Linked DNA regions of Homo sapiens: region 2 is linked to region 1. Evidence: promoter capture Hi-C in human tissues and cell types (Jung and others, 2019). All regions are on one chromosome and are shown on one strand. Each heading gives the region's core, a stretch centred on a gene start or on the middle of the fragment in contact. The rest is flanking DNA. Distances are from core to core; before and after follow the strand shown. Region 1 holds the start of PTGDR (prostaglandin D2 receptor). Region 2 has its middle 50 kb from the start of PTGDR.

Evidence for each region. Contacts are between HindIII fragments. The study calls those that stand out against the background at their distance.
Region 2: a fragment that was not itself captured here is called in contact with the fragment with the promoter of PTGDR in region 1 in 1 of the 25 tissues and cell types used here (IMR-90 fibroblasts).

What each region holds. Positions count from the first base shown.
Region 1 is chr14:52,262,849-52,269,312 of GRCh38, forward strand. PTGDR (prostaglandin D2 receptor) reads left to right here and starts at 4,850. Exons shown (of 2, transcript NM_000953.3): 1 at 4,850-5,812. The coding sequence starts at 4,967. The HindIII fragment of the contact is 10,952 bases long and covers 1,751-6,464 here.
Region 2 is chr14:52,214,700-52,220,992 of GRCh38, forward strand. No RefSeq gene overlaps it. Among named protein-coding and RNA genes, the nearest start is that of PTGDR, 50 kb to the right of the region's middle. The HindIII fragment of the contact is 4,919 bases long and covers 1-4,584 here.

The DNA of each region.
Region 1 (6,464 bases), core at 3,600-6,099:
CAAAAGCACTTCCTAATAAATACGCTACATATCCTATCCTCATCTCCATCTCAGAGTCTGCTTTTCTCAGGCAACCAAACCAGCCATAGCTGCCAACAACTTCCCTTGGAAGCTTATGCAAGCTGCTAGAAAAGCTCAGTAATCAGTGAACCCTCACAACCTGTCATCAGGTTACAAATGGATTATACCACCATTTATTTACTCTCAGGTCATCACCCAAAGACGTTTTCAAAAAATTCATGCTGATCTTTTGAAAGCGTATTTTCTCAAATTCCTACACATACAGAGATCCTGATCCTGATTTACACATGGACAGAAGCCAAAGATCAAAATGGAAATTCTTGCTAGGCAAAAGGTTGGGGAAGCCTGAAAAGCAGGAATAAGAATCAAACAAACATGAAGATTTTATTAAACTACCTGCAAATAGCAAACAGATGCCAAAATATTTGGGCAGACCACCACAAGACATTGTGTGACCCCAAAAACACAGGGCACTGACACATGGTCTGTCCCTGGTGGTAGTTCTGCCTCTTGACTTCTGAGCAGATAGAGGAAGTGGCAGGATCTCTCCTTTCTCTCTCACTCTCTGGTCTTCTCTGCAATTCTCTTTCTCCAAGGCAGAGGCTTGGGGAATCCAAAAGACCTGGATGCCAATTCTAGACTCATCACATACCAGTTGTGTGAACTTAAACAAGTTATTAACCTCTCTGAGTCTCATTTTCCTTATCCAAGAAAAGAGAGATAAAGAAAACTTCTGCAGTGCAGTTGGCAGGAATAAAAACATTAATGAACATCACTTACGGAGCCACGCAGAGCATGCCACAGCACAGTGCTTAACATTCTCACCTGAGCTGCACACAGGAATTAACTGGGGAGCTTCAAAAAAGATACTGAAGCCTGGAGGGCAACCCCAAAGAGTCTGATATCATCAATTTGGGGTGCTGAAGCATCACAAAGGTTTAAAGCTCTCCAGGTGATTCCAAAGTGCAGCCAAGATTGCTAACTATTGTTCTATGCAGATTATTTCATTTAAGCCAGATACTACCCTAAGAGTTCAGTCCAATTATCCCCCTTCACCCTCCTTCCCTCCTTTCTACAGACAAGCGGATTGAGGTTTAGAAAGGTTAGAAGATTATGCAAGGGTACACAGCTAGCAAGGGGCAAAGCTGAGATTTAAGTTCACACAGTATGACTCCCAGGACCTAACACATCATGGCCACACTTCTATGCTACCACTCCAGGTCCTGAATGTGAACGAACATCTAGCATGGTCTCTAGCATGCAGAACATGCTCCAAATTTGAGAGCTAAGTTTGTTTATCATTTGTTAGCATCCCTCCTCTCCATTCCTTGCTCTTCACAAGCCCCAGCCCAAAATATCACTTGGAGTTCAGTAGAAGTGAGCAATGGATAAGATTTAGAAGCATAGTTAGAATGGATCCAGAAAAAAATAAATGTTCCTTTTTCCTTCTTTTCCCCTTCCTAGATCCCCACCATAAGCATACATTTCTTGTATTAGTCTGTTCTCATGCTGCTAATAAAGACATACCTGAGACTGGGTAATTTATAAAGGAAAGAGGTCCAACTGACTCACAGTTCCACATGGCTGGGGAGGCCTCACAATAATGGCAGAAGGTGGATGAGGAGCAGTCACGTCTTACATGGCAGCAGGCAAGAGAGAACTTGTGTAGGGGAACTCTCCTTTATAAAACCATCAGATGTTGTGAGACTTATTCACTATCACAGAACAGCATGGGAAAGACCTGCCCCCATGATTAATTACATTTCATCAGTTCCCTCCCATGACCACATGGGAATTATAGGAGCTACATTCAAGATGAGACTTGGGTGGGGACAGAACCAAACCATATCACTTGTTTTACATTTAAAGTCTTTTAAAATAATTATTACATATACAACATTGAAAATATCAGAAACCAAGGAGATATTTTTCTGCCATCCCTTCTCAAGTCTAAGTGAATGTTTTCATTTGCCTATGTCAGCTTCTGAGCCTTGTCCATGAGAATCTATGATTTTTATGTTTATATTGCCATAATATAATTATATATTTAAAATAGTCATCCACATGATGTCATATATTTTCAGAAGATTTGTCCTATAACCCAATTAAGCAGCCTGGTACAGCTCTGTAGATAATGGAGGTAATTTTACCACTAACTTAGCCTAAGATATTTTCATTAAAGGTTTCCCTTTTAAGGAAAAAATGTACTTAGCCTGGTTACTCTGAAAGCTGATATAAAAATGTATAAGCCTGTAGAGGTCACACGACATGATGTTTGCCTTTCCTTATCTGTTGTATGCCCCTCAGTGCCCACATGCTTCATCCCCTCACCCCCATGCTTGGCACAGAGTAGGAGCGCAAAAACTATTTGACGCATGAACAAATGATACTTTTCTTGGTTGTATGGTGAAATTACAAAATAGAATTTCTCGGGAACTGGGACAGAAGACTCCAAAGTTAGGCCTGAGAACAGGGTAGGGTGGACACCAGCAAAGCAATCAGGAAAGGCAACCGGAAACCCCATCGTAAAGGCCAGCTACAGTGGCTGAGAGGAAACGTGTGGTTTCCTGAATTGCACTTGTTCAAAACCTTCAACCTTAAAGCATGATGTATGTAAACCTTATCAAGGACCCACAGCTGGCCCAACAGTCACACTTTGGGGTTGTTTTCTTTAAAAGGTATTTGTAATCTTAGGGTTCCTAGGATAAATACGGAGTTGTAAGCCACTGTAGCATGAAAATAAAGCTGCAAAGAATTGAAGTAGGTATGCTTCAGAAGAACAACCCATGCAATATTTTTAGAGGAAGGATTCTTAAGCTAGTGTCCATTGGGTCTCCTCTGGGTACCATAGAAGGGCTTCAGGAAATGGTGAACAGCCTGAGATTGATGTAAAGTGTGTGTGTGTGTGTCTGCGTGTGTGTCTGTGTGTGTGTGCCTGTGTGTGTGTGTGTGTCTGTCTGTCTATGGAGGAGACCACAGCTTTCATCAAATTCTCATGTCTTTTGGTTATGGGGCCTGCTCTTCCTTTCACTTCATTAAGTCGAGTGGGGCTCTTCTAAACCCATTCTTATGTGCTAGGGGCTAGAGATGGGAATGAGAGAGAGTAGGTAGAAGACAAGGGAACTAACTCTATACAAGGCCTTCTATTGAGTCAATATAAGTGAAAGGCTTAGAGAGTGTCCAACCTGCATCAGGACCAATAAATATTAGCTCTTATTATTATTATTACACTATGCCAAAGCACTTCAAGTTTTCTCAACCTCACAACAACCCCACAAGTTCAGCATAAGTCTCATATTCCATTAGGTTGAACAACTAACCCAGGGTCACACAGCCAGTGGTGGAGTTCAGAACTATCTAATTCCAAGCTTAGATTCTTCTTTTCCACCCTGTGGCCTGAATTACTGGCCAGACTTTCAGTCTGGAGGCAGCCTCTCTGTCTACCCTTCAGGCTTTCACATCTAAATCCCAAGGGTCTTGCTCTTTCCCTGAGTCTGTCCATCAGAACTGGCATGAGGCCTAAAAATGAGCCGTTTCAAGCCCAGGCATCATCTACTCACTTACATAACAAAACCTTAGTCATCCCACTGAGATTCCACACTCAAAGCCAATTTCTCTCACAGGGCATCGAATGCTAGTTAAAGATATAAAATCACGCTTATCACAATTAACTCCCTTGCCTTTATGATGCAGCCAAGTCAAAGCCCAAACAGGAATAAATTTTTTCTAGTAGCCACAAATCAGAGGAGTGAGAAAGCTCTATGCCAAATCTACCATTTTCTGATTTCAAAATCCATGCTAAAAACTGCAGTTAAACATCAGCTACCAAAACACCCTTCTATCAAATAAGAATCATGGTGATTGCATGAATTGAGCACTTTCTATGTACTTGCTCTTTACGTGTTATTTCTATGCCTCAGAAGAGCCAAGCAGGCCAGATAGATGTTACTGCTTGAGAGGCTAAGCAAGTCCCATAAGGTCACACACACAGTGAGGAGCAGAACCTGGACTCAAACCCAGGCCTATCTGATGACAGCAACAGTGCTGCTAACCATGCCCTTCCCCCCAGCTCTCTACAGTCAATGTGATTCATGGCACCCAGGACCAACACCGGCTCTTGGCTTTCCCACAAACCACTTCCCTGAAATCTGGACAACTTCTTGGGAGGAGGAGTCATGGGAACAGGACAGATGAACTCCAAAATAGAAGATCGGGTGAGAGGTCCGGCTCTGCTACTTCTGTAGCTCTGTCACCACGGGCAGATCACTTAACTTTCCAAGGCCTCAGTTTCCTCGCCTATGCAATGGAGATGACCGTGAATGCCCCAAATTGCGCTGATCTAGTAGAGAAGAGGAGCTAAGGCTCAGGGGCTTTCCAGACGTGAGTTATCTTTACCTTTCCTTGACTAGCTAATTCAAGACAACTAGGTAGAAGCCCTTTCTCAGCCTCCCCTCTTCGCTCATCTTTCGAGTTCTTGGCCACCCCAGTTCAAACACCAGCACCATTGCCCTCCTCTCAGGTGGCTGCTGCTTAATTTCCCCTCCACTTTAGTAGTTCTTCTCTTGCCTCGCTAGAAGGACTGGTGTTGGGTGCTTGGAATTCTGGCTATTTTCCTCCTGCCGTTCCGACTCGGCACCAGAGTCTGTCTCTACTGAGAACGCAGCGCGTCAGGGCCGAGCTCTTCACTGGCCTGCTCCGCGCTCTTCAATGCCAGCGCCAGGCGCTCACCCTGCAGAGCGTCCCGCCTCTCAAAGAGGGGTGTGACCCGCGAGTTTAGATAGGAGGTTCCTGCCGTGGGGAACACCCCGCCGCCCTCGGAGCTTTTTCTGTGGCGCAGCTTCTCCGCCCGAGCCGCGCGCGGAGCTGCCGGGGGCTCCTTAGCACCCGGGCGCCGGGGCCCTCGCCCTTCCGCAGCCTTCACTCCAGCCCTCTGCTCCCGCACGCCATGAAGTCGCCGTTCTACCGCTGCCAGAACACCACCTCTGTGGAAAAAGGCAACTCGGCGGTGATGGGCGGGGTGCTCTTCAGCACCGGCCTCCTGGGCAACCTGCTGGCCCTGGGGCTGCTGGCGCGCTCGGGGCTGGGGTGGTGCTCGCGGCGTCCACTGCGCCCGCTGCCCTCGGTCTTCTACATGCTGGTGTGTGGCCTGACGGTCACCGACTTGCTGGGCAAGTGCCTCCTAAGCCCGGTGGTGCTGGCTGCCTACGCTCAGAACCGGAGTCTGCGGGTGCTTGCGCCCGCATTGGACAACTCGTTGTGCCAAGCCTTCGCCTTCTTCATGTCCTTCTTTGGGCTCTCCTCGACACTGCAACTCCTGGCCATGGCACTGGAGTGCTGGCTCTCCCTAGGGCACCCTTTCTTCTACCGACGGCACATCACCCTGCGCCTGGGCGCACTGGTGGCCCCGGTGGTGAGCGCCTTCTCCCTGGCTTTCTGCGCGCTACCTTTCATGGGCTTCGGGAAGTTCGTGCAGTACTGCCCCGGCACCTGGTGCTTTATCCAGATGGTCCACGAGGAGGGCTCGCTGTCGGTGCTGGGGTACTCTGTGCTCTACTCCAGCCTCATGGCGCTGCTGGTCCTCGCCACCGTGCTGTGCAACCTCGGCGCCATGCGCAACCTCTATGCGATGCACCGGCGGCTGCAGCGGCACCCGCGCTCCTGCACCAGGGACTGTGCCGAGCCGCGCGCGGACGGGAGGGAAGCGTCCCCTCAGCCCCTGGAGGAGCTGGATCACCTCCTGCTGCTGGCGCTGATGACCGTGCTCTTCACTATGTGTTCTCTGCCCGTAATTGTGAGTCCCCGGGCCCCGAGGCAGCAGGGCACTGAGACTGTCCGGCCGCGGATGCGGGGCGGGAAGGGTGGAGCGGATCGGGATGGACGCGGCGCCAGGCGAGCTGCGCCCTGGGCCAGGAAGGTTTGCTGCTGAGTTCCCCAAATTGGATTCCTTCCACAGCCCCGAGATATAACTCAGTTTGCGGAGCGAAATGAGGGAAAGTTAGAGAAAGGAAGGGAAAGGCTGAGCCCGGCGGTGTCTCCCTAGCCCAGCAAAACCCTCTCCATGTGGCAGAACTCCCTCCTCTCTGCTTCCTTCTGGGGAGATCTCGAGGTCATTTTTGCGCCTTAGGAGGAGCAGAACTTAGTTTCTCCTTGGCAACAGGAGTCTTCTACTTCCCGACGGCTGGGTGATGTTTTATTTTGTTAGACCTGCTCATGACTTCAGTGGTATCAGAAATGGGCGAATGGCGTCTGGGACGATCTTCTCCCCGGTGTTGGCATAGAAAGGGAAAAAGAGGTTTAAGCCAGCCAGAGTGATTTGCAGATGCATAGTTTTAATTTTGAAAAACGCGTGCGTAAACTTTGAGACGCCACGGCTGCTGTTTCTGGTGCTGCATCCGCCAGGGATTGTGGCGATGGAGGCCGAGGCTCTTTGTATGTTTTAGCTG
Region 2 (6,293 bases), core at 875-3,374, 51 kb before region 1:
GCAAGAATCCTATTAGGTCACTTTAGACAGGAAACCCCCTTACCCCTGACGTTTTCTCTTAGTAGTTTTCCATCCACTGATCCCCACTCTGCCCCTTGGCTATAAATTCCCACTTGCCCATGCTGAATTCAAAGTTGAGCCCAATCTCTCTTCCCCACTGCAAAATCCCATTGCTGTGGTCCCAATGCATGTCATGATGGTCCTGAATAAAGTCTTCCTTACCATGCTTTAACAAGTATCATTTAATATTTTTTTCTTTAACAATAGGCAGATAGATGTATAGTCAAATTACCAAAGGAAAGAAAAAGCACGAACTAGAAGAACACACACGAAATTCATGATAGTGGATGTGCTTGGGAGGGAAGGAGATGTACGGGACTGAGAAGGGGTACAAATCTGTTTTTAATACTTTATTTTTTATTAAAAGTATTTGAAGCAAATGTAATGGAATAACATTTTTTCATTCTGGATGGTGGAACATACATAAATTTTTTTCCAAATGAAAGAAGAAGGAGGAAAGAAAGAAGGAGGGAGAATATGGAAAAGGAAGAAAAGAGGGAGAAGAAATGGATTTCAGTTTTCAGATAGACAAGGGATTTGGTTTGTTCAAAGGAAATTCCTCCCAGGTGTCCTGTCTGTAACTCCTTTAAGCTCTTGCCCCCAGCTCAGCCACACAGGTCCCACCTAAGCAGAAACTCCAGCCCAAATCAATAGCCTTGGTTTTGAACAACTTAAATTCTTCCTGCTTTTGGATCTTCATTTCTTTCCTGTTCACTCTTGACTTTGTTCCATGCTACTTTTTCCTGAGAGCCTGTCATTTCCTGGCTTCCACCTGGATCTTCTTGATGAAATCCTGTTTTTCTCCTTACTTGTGCCATCTCTGTCACTTCTGCCCAGTCCCCACTCCACCCCTAACTTTTATTTACCCAGGTAGGGGTGTCCACCTTTCTCTCACCAGACAGCTTCTGGCCCTGAAAGTGAGTGGGAACCAGGTAGTAACCAAGAAAGTAGGACTGAGCTGGGGTAGAGCTTTCCTGATACTTCTCTTTAGAGCTCCCACAAATCAGTTAGGGGTGCGGGCTTTCAATTAAGAATTTCCAACACTGAAAAAAATCCATTTTAGAAAAATGTAATTATGGTATATTTGGAATTAAGATGAATTGTGTATTTGTAAACAGAGGTTATTAAATACTATGAAAGACAGGGAAATTTAAAACACCAGCTAATTTAGAATTTTCCTTTTTCAATGAAAGTATGCCTGTGTTGAGACTGATGTTACCACAATAGTACCAAGCCAAAAAAAAAAAAAGTTTTTCTGCATTTGTTACAATTGCCTGCAATTTAAAGAACAACATGGATTAAATAGGATTTTATGAGTTAGGGTGAGAAATTAGTCACTCTCTTTAAATTATTCATGGACTGGACATGGTGGCTCACATCTATAGTCCTAGCACTTTGGGAGGACAAGGTAGGAGAATCACTTGAGCCCAGGAGTTCAAGACCAGTCTGGGTAACACAGAGAGACTCCTTCTCTACAAAAAAATTTAAAATTAGCCAAGTGTGGTGGCATATGCCTGTGATCACAGTTACTTGGGAGGCTGAGGTGGGAGAATCTCTTGAGCCCAGGAATTTGAAGCTGCAGTGAGCCATGTCAGTGCCACTGCTCTCCAGCCTGGGCAACAGAGTAAGATCCTGTCTCAAAAGATAGTAATTATTATAATTTTGTGGGAAATTTATTTTTAAATTCCAAAGAAGTGAATCACCAACTAATTTGTGAATGTATTTTTAATTCCCGTCCTATGCTAGACAATAAACAAAACACACAGCACAGCCCCACTTTCTCAAGAAACTTATTTCTGTGCCAGAAAAAACCAAAATGGAAGTATTTTTCTATGAGTTTTTGAAATGAGATTGTTTGTTTGCTTTGGACATTTTAAATGAAGGCCTCCTAGATTTAATCATTTTTGGAGCAGCCAATGTGTAATGAGGGCATAGATAAGGGGTAGATGAAAAACACAAAGTATGTTCCCAGCCAAAGTAATATCTTTAAAATTTATTGTTTTCAGGCATACAATAATATAGATGGCAAATATCATACAAAATCAAGCTTAAAAATAAAATATGATAGATACTACTGAAGCCTCCGTTACCCTCTTAGATCCTATTTCCCCGTCTCCATCGTCAAAATCCATTTTAGATGGATTTATATTATCCAGAAATTGGTGTTCATCATTCCCATGCATATTTCTACAATTCTGTAATATACGTATGTTTCCATAGACATTATATGGTACTGCATTGATGGTTTTAAACTTCACACAAATAGTATTATACTGTATATATTCTCCTGCAACTTTCTTCTTCTCTTTCACATTTTGTACAATTCAGCCATGTTGATATATTCATCGTACTGTCGTATACTACTTCTACTATTGCTCCTGTTGCTGTCGTTACCACTGTTAATGGATTTTATTTTGTGCTTGACACTGTTCTAGGCATTTTAAAGTATTGTACACTGTTCTAGTATTTAATCATGTTATCCTCAAAAAATCTTTTTATCAGATAGGTACTACTGTGATCCTCATCATCAAGTGAAGAAAAATTTGGGGTTTAAGCTCAAGATCACATGATCAATAAATTAGTATGAAGACATCACAATTAATTTATGCGTCCTTATGGACATCAATGTGATTTCCAGGTATTCAGCATTACAAATGTTGAATGCTGCAGTGAGCATCCTGTATATGGCTCCCTGTGCACCTGTACAAGAATTTCTGGGAGTGTACACCTTGAAGTGAAATTGCAGCATCAGAGGAAATCCACATTCTCAACTTGACGAAATTTTTCCAAATTGTTCTAAGTGATTATTCTAATTTGCAACCCCCCACACCCACTCCTGCCCCAACAGTGTTGATTCATAAGGACCTATCACTGGGGTTTTCAGACTTAAACTTTTACCAATATGATAGTTTTACCTCACTGTGGGTTTTTTTTTTTTGCATTTTTTTATTTCTGCCTTTGTTTGTGCTGCTAATATTTAAGAGTGAGTAATTTATAAAGAACCAAAATTTATTTTCTTGTAGTTCTAGAGGCTGGAAAGTGCAAGACCAAGGTGCCAGCAGGTGTGACTGCCTGCTGAGGAACATTCTCTGCTCCCAGCGTGGCACCTTGTTGCTACATCCTCCGGAGCGGAGGAACACTGTGTCCTCACATGGTGGAAGACAGAAGGGCAAGTCCATCAAGGCCTTGTGTAAGGGTCCCTAATTCCATTCATAAGGAGAGGCACACTAATCACCTTATCACCTCTTAAAGGCCCCACTTCTTAATACCATCACATTGTAAGTTTCAATGCCTGAATTTTGGAGGGGACACATTCAAACCATAGCAATTATTCTTGAGTTTAAGCTCTTATTCCTCCATGAATTGCCTATCCATATCCTTTGCAACTTGGTTCTGTTTCTTTTTAGGAATGCTGCACATATTAAATACTAATCCTTTGTCCATCACCTACATTGTAAACACCTTCTTCCAGTCTGTGGTTTATCATGTCCCCCATCCTATCTTTTATAATACAGAACTTTTTTTAATGTAGTCAAATTTACCAATATTTTGTTTATGGTTCGGGCTTATTTTGTTTTTTTAAAAAACATATTTTCATGCTCTAACATAAATTCTTTTAAATGTCCCTTGTATCAGTTGAAGGGCAGGGCACAGTGGCTTATGCCTCCAATCCCTGCACTTTGGGAAGTTCAAGACCAAGCCTGGCCAATATAGTGAGACCCCTGTCTCTACAAAAATAAAAATAAAAAACTAGCCAGATGTGGTGGTACCTACCTGTAGTCCCAGCTACTTGGAAGGCAGAAGGCAGAGGCAGGAGGATCCCTGGAGCCAGGAGTTCAAGGCTACAGTGAGCTATGATTGTATCACTTCATTTCAGCCAGGGCAATAGCTCAAGATGCTCTCTCTTTTCCGTTTCTTTTTTTTTTTTTTTTTTTTTTTTTGAGACTGAGTTTCACTCTTGTTTCCCAGGCCGGAGTGTAGTGGCACAGTCTCGGCTCACTGCAACCTCCACCTCCTGGGTTCAAGCGACTCCTGCCTCAGCCTCCCAAGTAGCTAGGATTACAGGCACCCACCACGACGCCTGGCTAATTTTTGTATTTTTAGCAGAGACGAGGTTTCACCATGTTAGCCAGGCTGGTCACGAACTCCTGACCTCAGGTGATCTGCCCGCCTCGGCCTCCCAAAGTGCTGGGATTACAGGCATGAGCCACCGTGCCCGGCCTAAGACCCTCTCTCAAAAAAAAGAAAAGAAAAAGAAAAAGAAAGAAGAAGGCCAGGTGCGGTGGCTCATGCCTGTAATCGCAGCACTTTGGGAGTCCAAGGCGGGCAGATCACCTGAGGTCAGGGGTTCCAGACCAGCCTGGTCAACATGGTGAAGCCACATCTCTATTAAAAAATACAAAAATTAGCCGGGTGTGGTGGCGTGCACTTGTAGTTCCAGCTACTCAGGAGGCTGAGTCAAAAGAATTGCTTGAACCCAGGAGGTGGAGGTTGCAGTGAGCGGAGACCGTGCCACTGTACTCTAGCCAGGTGGTAGAGGGAGACTCCAACTCAAAAAAAAAAAAAAAAAGGAAAAAGATTTTGTTTTGGGCATCAATTTCCAATTCATGTAGGTCAATTTTTGTGCATGGTAAGATGTGGAACTCTAGTTTTACTTTTTCTCCTTGTGGTTCATCATTTTTCTATTTATCAATATTCCACTCTCCCCTCACTGATCTGTATTGCTATCTCATTTATTTCTTTTTTCTTTTTTTTTTTTTTTTTTTTAACCAAGACAGGGTCTCACTCTATCACCCAGGCTGGAGTGCAGTGGCATTATCATGGTTCACTGCAGCCTTGACCTTCCAGGCTCAAGCGATCTTTCCACCTCAGCCTCTTGAGTAACTGGTATCACAGACATATGCCATGGCATGATGCCATGCCTGGCTAATTGTGGTATTTTTTTGTAGAGACAGGGTTTTTCCATGTTGCCCAGGCTGGTCTCAACCTCCTGGGCTTAAGCAATCTTCTCCCTTCGGCCTCCCAAAGTGTTGAGATTACAGCCGTGAGGCACCGTACCTGGCCTTCTTCCATTTCTGGAGCATGTTTTCTTATGTGCATAAGCCTGTTCCTGGACTCTCTACTCTGTCCCATTATTCCATTTGTCTAGCCCTGCACTTACACCACACTGTTGAATTACTTAACTTTATTTTCAATTCTGTTATCTAATATGGCATGTCTCCTTGCTTTTTCAACTTTAACATTACTCCTGGCTCTTTTTGGCCCTTTGATCTGTCATGTGAGTTTGAGTCAGATTATTAAATTCCACAGAAAATGTTTTTTATTGTATCAATATTTATTAATTCAAGGTTTATGGTATTAATGTTATTTATTAGTTTGGCAAAAATTGAGCTTTTTATATTCCATGGGTATCTGCCTGTTTCTTATCAGGCTGTCAGTCCTGGCCCCCCAGCATATCAGGCTCTACATTCCTCTTTCAGCTATAGGGTCTTGCTCAAATTTCCCCTTTCCATTGTTTCTTTTCTTTTTTTTTTTTTCTTTTTTTTTTTTTTTTTTTTGAGATGGAGTCTCGCTCTGTGGCCCAGGCTGGAGTGCATGGAATGCAGTGGTGAGATCTTGGCTCACTGCAACCTCTGTCTCCTGGGTTCAAGATTCTCCTGCCTCAGCCTCTTGAGTAACTAGGACTATAGGCATGCACTACCACACCCGGCTAATTTTTGTATTTTTAGTAGAGACAGGGTTTCACCTTGTTAGTTAGGCTGGTCTCGAACTCCTGACCTCAAGTGATCCATCTGCCTCAGCCTCCCAAAGTGCCCTTTATTTATTTACTTATTTATAGCTCCATACACTTCTGCCTTTTTCTGGGCCCCCCAGGGATAGGTCTGGAGGAGGAGGCCAGCGGCCCTTGCTAGCCTCCTACTTGTCAAGAACCGCAAGTCTCTTGTTTATGTTTTAATTTTGAGAGCCCAGAGGCCCCAGAGAATGTCATTTATGTCACTCCAGCGAGAGATGCATGGTAATATCAAAGCTGTTTCCCCCCCCACCCCCGACAAAAAAGATAAGAATTCAACCAATGGCTGGAAAAGGGGATGCAAAAAGGATGTGAGCTGAGAGGCACAGTTTATGAGAAGAGTCCAGCACCCGGACTCTCCTCTTCAGGTTGAACCCCAAAGTTGTGGGGTTGATGGAGCTTTCTGATGAGTTTGGGGGGCCTGCAGAGCAGAGAAACTTTG